Linked DNA regions of Homo sapiens: region 1 is linked to region 2. Evidence: promoter capture Hi-C in human tissues and cell types (Jung and others, 2019). All regions are on one chromosome and are shown on one strand. The core of a region is centred on a gene start or on the middle of the fragment in contact, and the rest is flanking DNA. Distances in the headings are between cores, read along the strand shown. Region 1 overlaps USP13 (ubiquitin specific peptidase 13). Region 2 holds the start of GNB4 (G protein subunit beta 4).

Region 1 (5,419 bases), core at 2,407-4,906, 210 kb after region 2:
AGTGATAGGGCACTTACTAGGTGCCATGCATCATTCCAAGCCTTCTAATTATTGCATATATTATTATACCTACATGAACTCATTTAATCATCACAACAACCCTATGTTATATACTATTACCATTTTGCAGATCAGGAAACTCAAGTACAAAGATCACCCAGAGAGTAAGTAGGAGAGCTGGGATGTGAATCTGAATTGTCTGACTCTAGAATCTGTTTTTAAAAAACCATTTTGGCTGGGCGCGGTGGCTCACACCTGTAATCCCAGCACTTTGGGAGGCTGAGGTGGGTGGATCACCTTATGAGGTCAGGAGTTCGAGACCAGCCTGGCCAACATGGTGAAACCCCGTCTCTACTAAAAATACAAAAATTAGCCGGGCTGGGTAGCGGGCGCCTGTAGTCCCAGCTACTCAGGAGGCTGAGGCAGGGAGAATCGCTTGAACCTGGGAGGCAGAGGTTGCAGTGAGCCAAGATCCCGCTATTCCACTCCAGCCTGGGCGACAGAGCGAGACTCTGTCTCAAAAAACAAACAAACAAAACATTTTAACTCGATTTAATTGTACAATTCAGTGGCATTAAATTACATTCGCATGGAAACATTTTAACTCGTTTTAATTGTACAATTCAGTGGCATTAAATTACATTCGCATTGTTGTGTAACTATCACTATGCATTGTTGTGTGAATATCACTACTGTCGATCTCCAGTTTTTCATCCTTCCAAACTGAAACTCTGTATCCATTTGACAATAAACCCCCACTTCTCCCTTCTCCTAGCCCCTTGTAATGTCCATTCAACTTTCTGTCTCTATGAATTTGCTTATTCTAGGCACTTTATATAAGTGGAATCACACAGTATTTGTCCTTTCGTGTCTGGCTTATTTCATTTAGCATAATGTTATCAAGGTTCAGTGTTGTAGCATGCATCAGAATTTCCTTCCTTCTTAAGGCTGAATAATATTCCATCATATATATGTACATGTATTACATTTTATTTGTCCATTCACCTGTTAATGGACATCGGGTTGTTTCTACCTTTTGACTGTTGTGAATAAAGCTGCTTCAGTTGTTGGTGTACAAGTATTTGTTTGAGTCCCTGTAGATTCTCTGCATTTTACCATTGTACTATGCACGTTGCCTTGCAGTCAATGAGACTTCCCATCATAATGTTTACTTGTAGGGAGAAAAAAAAGTTAATTTAGGATCTCTGTGGAAAACTCTTCCTCCTGATGGATAAACTGATACAAGGTAGTAAAGCAAAATTTCAGAGCAGACAGACTTTTTTCCACTTTGAAGATATAAACTTAAAGTAAATCTTATTAGTTTCACATGTCAAAAGCTTCCTTCCAAAAGCAACTAGCTGAAAAGTTGTTCTCGAGCAGTGATTCTCAAGCTTTTTGACCTCTTTATACTCTTTAACTATTTTTGAGAACCGCAAAAAGCTTTTGTGTGATTTCTGTTGCTATTTACCATATTAGAAGTTAAAACTGAGAAAAATTTAAAACAATTTGAACAATTACATTCTATTGGCTTTTGAAATGATGTCATTGCATGTCACGTAGCCTTGGGAAAATGCCACTGTGTGCTATGAGAGAATGAGAGAGAGAAAGGCAAGTAACTTCATGTTATGAAAATAGTTTTGACCTCCCAAATTACTTAAAGACTCTGGGGTGTCAGAGGGTTACCAGGCCTTACTTTGGAAACCAAAGTTCTAGAGTTTAGGCAAGAAGATATAACCACTTATTCCAGTCACTTACCTCACCTGAAATGTAGCCTATGGGTTCACATTAAATTATTATCTTAATTTTAGCTCAACCATAGATGTCATATGTTGCATGCACATTCTTTTTGAAGCAAATTAAAATTTAGAGAGTTTGATTGACACTTTTTGAAAAAATTAGAGCTACTTGAGCTGGGAATTTACTATTTCATAGATAGGATTTTTTTTTTTTTATTCTCTGAACTGTGAGTTTCATTGTAGGGTGACCTGGCTGGGCTGTTTCTTTGGGGAAGCTTAAATGTTAGTGTGATTTTTTTTTCTTCCTTTGGCTACCAGGTAGGAGACTATTCTAATCTCTTGCCTGGAAAATACAGGCCTGTCTACCAGTATTTAGGGAACTGAGTGGGAGTGGAGGGTGAAGGTGGTCTCAGCATCTGGGTATTCGATACCAGCTGGATATTGCCTGTAGGTTCTCAGCTGTGTCCCTGCTTTGCTAAGCTTCTCCCATCATTGCAGGGGCTGGCTCCTGGACATTGCATTTCCCAGAGTCCCTTGGTGGCAAGATTCTGATACTGATTTTTCCAGTAAGAGATTTAGAAGGCAAAAGAGAAGGAGAAGCCACTTTGCTATTGCAACTGTGGCACCTGGTCGATGTGAGGTTTTCCTAGCAGCATCTGAGTGTCCTTCTGGGACACAGTTACCTCAGTGGTGGGGATTCTGACGTCATCTGTGCAGTTTCTTGTGACGCTTGTACATCCTGAGTTCCTGAACATAGGCAGTGATTTCTCTGACTGTGGCTCTCATGCCCTTTCCATGATTTTTTAAGCTTTTAATTTCCTGTATCAAATCTCTTCCTGCCTGTAATACCTGAATAGCATCTATTTTCTGACCAAATCTGGACTGATACACATACATTCTCTTAGTCCCCATGTTCGTGATGGTGCCTCTATTCTTAACTAAGCTCATTCTTCCCCAGCGCTGAAACCTTTGTTTTTGTCTGCTTTAGAGAATCACTCTCTAGTTCTTTGCCAGGAGAGGGAGGGGCCTCTTGGAGTGGAGGTGAGGTTTGGGGCTCTGACGGCTACATAGAAAACCTTTCTCTTTATTTTAGCTCCTACTTCACCCCATCTTCCAGAGTTATCTTGAATTGCCAGTTCTGGAGTCTTTTGGGCATTCTGGGGTGAAGATCAGGTTGGATCTTGGCTTTCCCTGCTGCTGGCCTAGGATTCAGCTCTGTTGCCATCTTAGTCTTTTAGCATTCATTTACCTGCCGTCCAGCTTTCCAGACTTTAGTGCTATAGCTTATGTCTTGAAAAAATCCCTTTGCTGTCCTTTGATTGGGGTTTCAGAAAGGAGTGAAATGGATGTCTTTGTGTCATTTGCCATGTGTACCCTAAAATCCTGCTTTTCTAAAATCATAATCAAGAAGTCACTTGCTGTCCCTTTTGGACAGTAGTTCATTACCTTTAAAGTTGTACCATTTTTAGAGCTTTGGAATGTGAGAGATGATGCTGATCCTGTCAGAAAGACTTTTTGGAAAAGTTCATGTTCTCTGCTCATTTTGGATCTGGACATCTGTGCAACTCTGAATTCTCTTTTTCCTCCCCTGCATTCCTCTCCCTATGGACTGGAGCTCAGTTAAAGGAGCGGCCATCCATTTTAGTGCCCCAGATTGAGAGGTGTATGGTATCATCCATTCTACCTCCCTCTCTCTCTTTTTATTTTTTAAGTTGTGATAAAATACATATAACATAAACTTTACCATCTTAACCATTTTAAAATGTACAGTTCAGTGGCATTGGAGTACATTCACACTGTTTTGCAGTTATCACCACTGTCTGTCTTCAGAATTCTTTTCATCTTGCAAAACAGAAACTCTGTACCCTTTAAACAATGACTCCCTGTTCTCCCCTTTTCTCAGCCTCTGACAACCACCATTCAACTTTTTGTCTCTAAGATTTGGCCACTCTAGGTACTTTATACAAGTGGAATCATGCAATATTTGTCCTTTTTGACTGATTCATTTCACTTGGCATAATGTCCTCAAGGTTAATCCATGTTGTTGTGTCAATTTTCTTCCTTTGTAAGGCAGGATAATATCCCATTGTGTGTATATACCGCATCTTGTTTATCCAGTCATCTGTCAGGGACACTGGGTTGCTTCCACCTTTTGGCTCCTGTGAATAGTGCTGCCATGAACATGGCTATCTCACTGTCTCTTTTAGCATCATATCCCATCAGTCACCAAATTCTGGTATATCCTCCTCTCTCCCTTGCACTGCTAAGGCTCGGGCCCTCATCCTTTCTCACCTGGACTGTGGCAGAAGCTTCCTAACAACCACCTTACTTTCCCTTCCAGTCTGTCACACTACACTCTTGGATATTTTTAAAATAGGGGTCTGATCATCTCATTTGCCCGCCTTGAAATCCTCAATGGTGCCATTCAGACTTTTCTAACATGGCACATCACCTCAGTTTACCTTGTTGATCCAGCTTTCCTGCCCCTCTGCTTACTTTCTGTCTGTCCCAAAAGACTTTCCATTCTCTAGGTGCTCCATGCTCTTGCCCCTCCATGTGCTTGCTCATGCTCTTGCGTTGGCCTGGAATGCATTCTCTCACCCTCATCCTCCTGGAAAAGCCCTGTTCGTCCTTTAAAGCCAGCTCAGATGTTCTTTGTGAGGACTCCTCCCATCCTCAGAAGCTGAGTTAGATATCTGTTTTCCTTTGCCTTCACTTTGTACATCTCTGTCATGGGTGGGATACAGATTGTGGGGATGTGGAATAGCTGAGGTCTTGGAGAATTAAAAGGAAAAGAGTAGAGAACTGAAAACTACACAGTTTGTGAACCTGTGCCATTAAGCCTGCATCTTTTCTGATTTTCTGGGTGTGTTTTTTTTTTTTTGGAGTCTTGGTCTGTCGCTCAGGCTGGAGTGCAGTGGCATGATCTTGGCTCACTGCAACCTCTGCCTCCTGGGTTCAAGCTGGGATTACAGGTGTGTACCACCATGCCCGGATATTTTTTTTGTATTTTTACTAGGGATGGGGTTTCACCATGTTGGTCAGGCTGGTCTCAAACTCCTGACCTCAAATGATCCACCTGCCTTGGCTTCCCAAAGTGCTGGGATTACAGGCATGAGCCACCGCACCCAGCCGCCAATATGATATTTTCATGTTATCTTATTATCTGAAACATCATAGGTTTGACCCTTGAAAAGCCAGGGAAAAGTGTCTCGAGTACTTGCTGAATGTTTTATATGTTGTGATTCTAGGGTGCTTGGTAAAAGATCCCACATTGGGCCCCTCAGGGAGATGACAAGAGGACTGGGATCTATGGTTGCAGATCAGGCCTCTGTCTGGTCTGTTCAGTATTGTGGTGATCAGTTAGGACTCCCCTTGTTCCCAGGCACAGGGAAGATGTGAACAGGAACACCTATTTTTAGGGCTAGAACAACAGGACAATGTAACAATGACAAGAATTTAATGAATCTGAATACGCCTCTGGACAGAGATGTTGCTTGAGGTGCAAGATAGTATGTGCCTCATGTGGTAAGATTAAAAAGGAAAGATGGTGCGTGGTGGCTCACACCTGTAATCCCAGCACTTTGGGAGGCTGAGGTGGGCGGATCACCTGAGGTCAGGAGTTCAAGATCAGCCTGGCCAACATGGTGAAACTCCGTCTCTACTAAAAATACAAAACTTAG
Region 2 (5,436 bases), core at 1,844-4,343:
GCTACACCTCTACCATACAAATAATAGCCTACTACACAGAGTTCAAGATTATTTTTTCAGTTCTTTAATCTTTAATCCTGTGCTCAAAACTTACTTGGTTTTTTTTTTTTTCTTCTGGGAGTTTATATTATTCACATAAATACACGGTTTGTTGTTGCTGTTTGTATTGTTTTGGAGTCCCACTCTCCACATCTTGTTAATTTTATTTTTGAACATAAAAAAGACTAACAGTTTCCAAAACTCAAAACTATGCAAAAAAGTACATTCAGAACAAGGCCATTCCTTCTGTTGTTCCCATTTACTCAGTTCCTACCCGGTGCCTGTAGGTAACTAATTAGTTTCTGGTTCTCACTCCTGTATTTATTTTTTGTTCTGTCAAAAAACTACGCTTCCTCAAGGTGAGGTAGAGAAATGAGGCAGGGCCAGACGCCGTGGCTCACGCCTGTAATCCTAACACTTTGGGAGGCTGAGGTGGGTGGACTGCTTGAGCCCAAGAGTTCAAGACCAGCCTGGGCAACACAGCGAGATCCCGCTTCTATTTATAAAAATAAATAAATAAAAAGAAATGAGGCAGTCACTGAAGCAGAACACTGGATCAAGAAACCATTTTATTTTAAAATGGCAGACTGTACAATAATGTAAATGATTCTGTAGTAACTGACAAATTGAAGGTGCAGGAGAGAGTATGATAAATTGCAGAGGGAAATATCCATCAAAATATCCTCTAGTTTAATTTGAGGGATATCAAAGGGTTCTCATATCCCAAAATTGACCGCAATCCTGTTTGTAACCTTCCAAATTAGTTATAACTCTATCTCTAGAGAACCCACATTAAAATGGAGTTACTGTTTTATCAAGATAATTAAGCCATCACTACCTATTAATATCAATAGGATACACTGTGCCCTGGCAAAAGGGAGGTTTTGAACTTGGAACAAGACATTTAACTAGGAGTAGAGTGGTGAGAAGAGAATGGCTGATGTGAGAAGCTGTATAAAAACATGGGACAGACAATAATGATCATGCTGGAAAAACAAACATGCTTCTGGCATGTCTTGGATATTTTACACACATGCTAATGAGTAATTGAGGGTCACTCCTCATGCCCTCGAACTAAGTTAATATGGCTCAGGGGAAAGAACATGGACTTTGGAAACAGAGGGGTCTTGCTTCGAATCCCAGTTGAGTTACCTAACACCTACATGACCACTGCCAAGTTACTTAAAACCTCACAGACAATTTCCTTACCTGTGGAAGTAGATAATGGTGTTACTGTGAGATATAAGTAGAATAACTTACAGCACTGCCCCAGCCCAGAAGAGATATTTTAATAAATAAGTCCATAACAGACGCAGATTAAAATAGTCAGCAAGGTAAAGAAACTGATGATACAGCCAGCTGACTTCAATAACATGCCTAAGAGAAATCACACCATCTCAGGCAGTATTTGGTAAGGCCAGAAGAATGTCCAACACTTAGTTCCAATTCTTAATTTTCAAATTGCCCCAGAGTCTATTTTTAAAGTGTAAAAGTATGTGCTGACATACTTACATGCCAATTGTTTAAAAGAAACAATTCTACAGGTTAACAAAGGCCAAAGACTCGGAATAACTTCCTAAATAATGTTTATGGGCCCACAAAGAGTTGAACCAACCTAAAATATCACAAGCTGTATCAATCAGTTTTATAAATGTATATACAGAGGGTTGACAACGTTCAATAAGATGATATTTTAAAAGTTTCTATTTCAGTTTCAAATTCATCTACAAACCAAAATGCAACATGGAAAATCTTAAAATGTCTTTAAGCCACATACTGAAATATACAGTAAATTTTCAGAGCCTAGGATCAGTAGTAAACCAAAAGCCCCAAACTGAAGAGTATTAAAATGAACAATGGCAGAGACTCGAAGCACACAATTTTGAATGCACCTAATCAGCCGTCCTCCTCTCCGACTAGAAATAACTTCCCTCCCATCTTAAATTAAGTAGCGTGTGTTCTGTCTCTGTCCTAGAAGATGTACTTAATGGTCATAAACTCTGTTTGCAACACTGAGACGGACTCATAATAAAAGTTCTAATCAACAATTAAATTTTGAACGTTTTAAGAAAACTTCCCGCTAAGCCACACGCCAAGCTACTTTGTCGGTGGCTGAGAGGGAGAAAGATGCATCCTTATCCTTTATGGAAAGAGAAAGGGAAGGAGTGGGAGAAAAGGGAACACAAGGAGACGAAAAATAACAAAGTATTGCTTGTATAAACAAATGAAAGCCTGGTTTCAAACTTTTGAAAATTCAACGTTCCCTTAGCGAATAGCAATACATATCAAAGTATATGGCAATCATCTGTGTTCTGAAGCAGAAAAAGGTGGAGAGAAAAGCAAAACACTTTTTATTGTACTGAACTCACAAGTATTCAAAATTCATCAATCCCCTCCCATCCCCAAACTCTGGACATTATATCATTTCCAAAATAAATCTGAAACAAAACCATTGGACTAATTTTGGACTCAGCGTAGAACTTTTATGAGTCTTCCAAGCACTCTCCACCCAACAGCCCTGCTGGGCAGTCCCGAATACCCGTTATTTTGGGGGCACGCACGGGCTCGTGCTCTGAGTTCCTGGAAGGAGGCCTCGGGGAGTGACGAGAAACCAGGGGGGTCTGCAGGACTTGGACCGCCGACCGTTCCTCGCTCCCCGGGGCGAGCGGTCTGGACCGCCCGGGAAGTGCCTGCGCCGGCGGTCGTGGGGCCAGTTCCCGCGTGGCAGCTGGGCGCGACACAGGCGCGCCCTCCTCGTCCCTCCCGGGCAGCGTCGGCCGCCCGAGCCCGGGGAGACCCGCCCCGCCCCGCGCCGTCACCCGGGCCCCGTTCCGCAGGGGTGGCTCGCGGCGCCCCACGTCCCTGCGAGAAGCCCGGGATCGCTTCGCGGGGCGCACCGACGAGCCGCCGCTCGCGAGCTCGCCGCCTACCTGGAGGGAGCTCAGGCCCGCGTCGACCGCGCGCTGCCGGTGTCCGCTGGGCGCTCAGCAGCCCCTGGAGCGCGGAGCCGGCGTGGAGAGCGCAGCTCACAGCCGAGACCAGAGCCGCCGGCCACACCCAGTCCCGCACCTCCCAGCAGCCAACTCCGCGGCGCGCCGGAGCCGGGGCGGGGACGTGGCTGGAGGCGCGAGGCGCGAGGCACGAGGCGCGCGGGCCCGGCGGGGACGTGCCGGGGACGCGCAGACCCTCGGAGCGCGCGCAGCCCGGGCGGGGGGCGAAGGGAGCGGGCGCCGCGCGCAGCTTCTGCTTCCTATTTTCTCTCTCGTTTCCTGCCAGAAGGAGAAGAAAAACATTCATTCCCGGGCAGTTTCGTTTTCTTGTTGGTGTGGCGCCGGGGCACGCTGCTAAGTAGCGCCCGTCTAAGTGGCGTGGCCAGTTTCCTTTCCGGCGCTGACAGGCGCCAGTTTGCTTGTTAGCAGGATCGAAGGGCAGAGCTAGAAGACCCCAAAGGCCCCATTTAGGTTTCCCATTCTGGAATTCTAAATGTCAGAAAGTAAACTGAAGCCCAGAGTTGCACAACCTTGCGTTGCAGTCCCCGCTCTTCCATCACTAGTTGTAGGACCGTGTACCGTCTCGGGCCTAAGTTTCGTCATCGCCAAAATAAAGATACTGATACCTGCCTCATAAAGGTGCTAAGCATATTAAATGAAGTGATGTTTGCACGAAGCCTGCCTCCAAATAAATGGCCAATACTTGGAAGTTATTGTTCCTATTGTCATTGATAAAACTGGAAGGCCTTCCAGATATCCCTGCCAAGTCGCTCTTCTCTGCATGAGTTAAACACCACATGCATCTCAATCGAGTTTTTTTTTTTTTCACATTTATCTGGGTGTTTTATGTTTAAAATGTCATAAAATAAATGCATCTATCCAATTTGCTTCCTCTGAAGTCAGTACCGCCTGGGAGCATTTTTCCTCTCCCCACCCCCATTTTTCTTCTGAGTTAATTCCAGTTTGACAGACTGTTGCTATAGCATTCCTTCTCTGACGTCAAACAATTTAAAGAAACAGCCCTGGGTAGCGAAAACTGCAGAGGAGTTCTTTGTGGAGTTTCTGTGCCGGAGAAATGTTCGAACAATATCATCAGATAACTTTAACAACCCCTCAGCCTTCCAATCCTCCTTCTGTAGCTGCTTCCCACTATCACCTGGAATAAATCTATTAGTCCCTTGAAAGAGGTGATGCCATGATAAACACACCCTGTTTGTGACTGTGGGGAAAATGTGACCGTTTTGTATAAAAGCCAGGCCGTGACAAAAATAGAAGCAGCTGTTTCTATTTTCTTTATCCACAGATAAAGAAACTGTGGATAATTTTTCCCCCAAAATTTTCATTTTTACTAATATTAGGAGCATTTTTCCATTAAGAAGAAAGAAATGCCAAATATTCTGCATATCAAAGTGTCAGAAGAGCTCGTTGGGACATGAGTGTTTTGCATCTGTAACTATTTATGTTTTAATGATTAAATCCTGAGTTTTATGATTGTCGTTTTTCGGAGGAAGCAAAGGGAAATTGTTAAAGAGTGCCTATTACGGACCATGCTCTCTGCTTTCTTATACTGTACTTAATCCTCATAATTACCTTGAAGTGTGAATTTTATCCCCATTTTACAGATAAGCAAACTGATGCCCTGGTAAGATTAATTTATCGGAGTCACGAAGGTATTGGTAGAGCCCTGCATGACATCAGATTGGATCAACTCCAAAGCCCACATTCTTTCTTTTTTTTGTTTGTTTTTTTGTTTTGAGACGGAGTCACTGTGCAGTGATGTGATGTCAGCTCACTGCAACCTCCACCTCCAGGATTCAAGCGATTCTCGTGTCTCAGCCTCCCAAGTCTGGGATTACAGGCACAAGCCACCACGCCCGGCTGATTTTTTGTATTTTTAGTAGACACGGGGTTTCACCGTGTTGACCAGGCTGGTCTCAATCTGCTGACCTCAGGTGATCCGCCCACCTCGGCCTCCCAAAGTGCTGGAATTACAGGCGTGAGCCACCGATCCCGGCCCCATATTCTTTCTTTAGATTCTTTTCTGCCTTGTTCCTGTGCACTAGCATTTACCAGATGTTATAAAGCTTTGAGAGCTGGTTGTTGGGTTAAGATTATTTGTTGAAAAACAAGTTGCTGGTATTTAGGAAAACACAGTGGGAAGCAATGAGATAGTCTATTCCAGAAAAGATGAGGGGAAATATAAATGAACAGCTCCTAAACATAAAATACAAAACCTGAAAAGATGTAACAAGAATTTGACTGTCTTTTAAAGAGTTTAAAAGAATGATATCGTCAATCTTCCTGAAAATTTAATGTAGACAAAGAAATTACTAGAAGAATAAAGTCCAAGTACAGAAAAAGGAAAGTTTAATTATTATCCAAACGAATCTACTTCCAAGAATATTGT

The links. The method cuts DNA at HindIII sites, captures the fragments that hold promoters and counts their contacts. A contact is called where the count stands out against the background at its distance.
Region 1: a contact is called between a fragment that was not itself captured here and the fragment with the promoter of GNB4 in region 2, in 1 of the 25 tissues and cell types used here (pancreas).

Annotation. Positions count from the first base shown.
Region 1 is chr3:179,659,524-179,664,942 of GRCh38, forward strand. All of the region lies in intron 1 of USP13 (ubiquitin specific peptidase 13), which reads left to right. Among named protein-coding and RNA genes, the nearest start is that of USP13, 9.2 kb to the left of the region's middle. The HindIII fragment of the contact is 3,863 bases long and covers 1,726-5,419 here.
Region 2 is chr3:179,448,377-179,453,812 of GRCh38, forward strand. GNB4 (G protein subunit beta 4) reads right to left here and starts at 3,094. Exons shown (of 10, transcript NM_021629.4): 1 at 2,970-3,094. It also overlaps the pseudogene RPL29P34. RefSeq lists silencers at 2,665-3,074, 3,115-3,264. The HindIII fragment of the contact is 18,692 bases long and covers 1-5,436 here.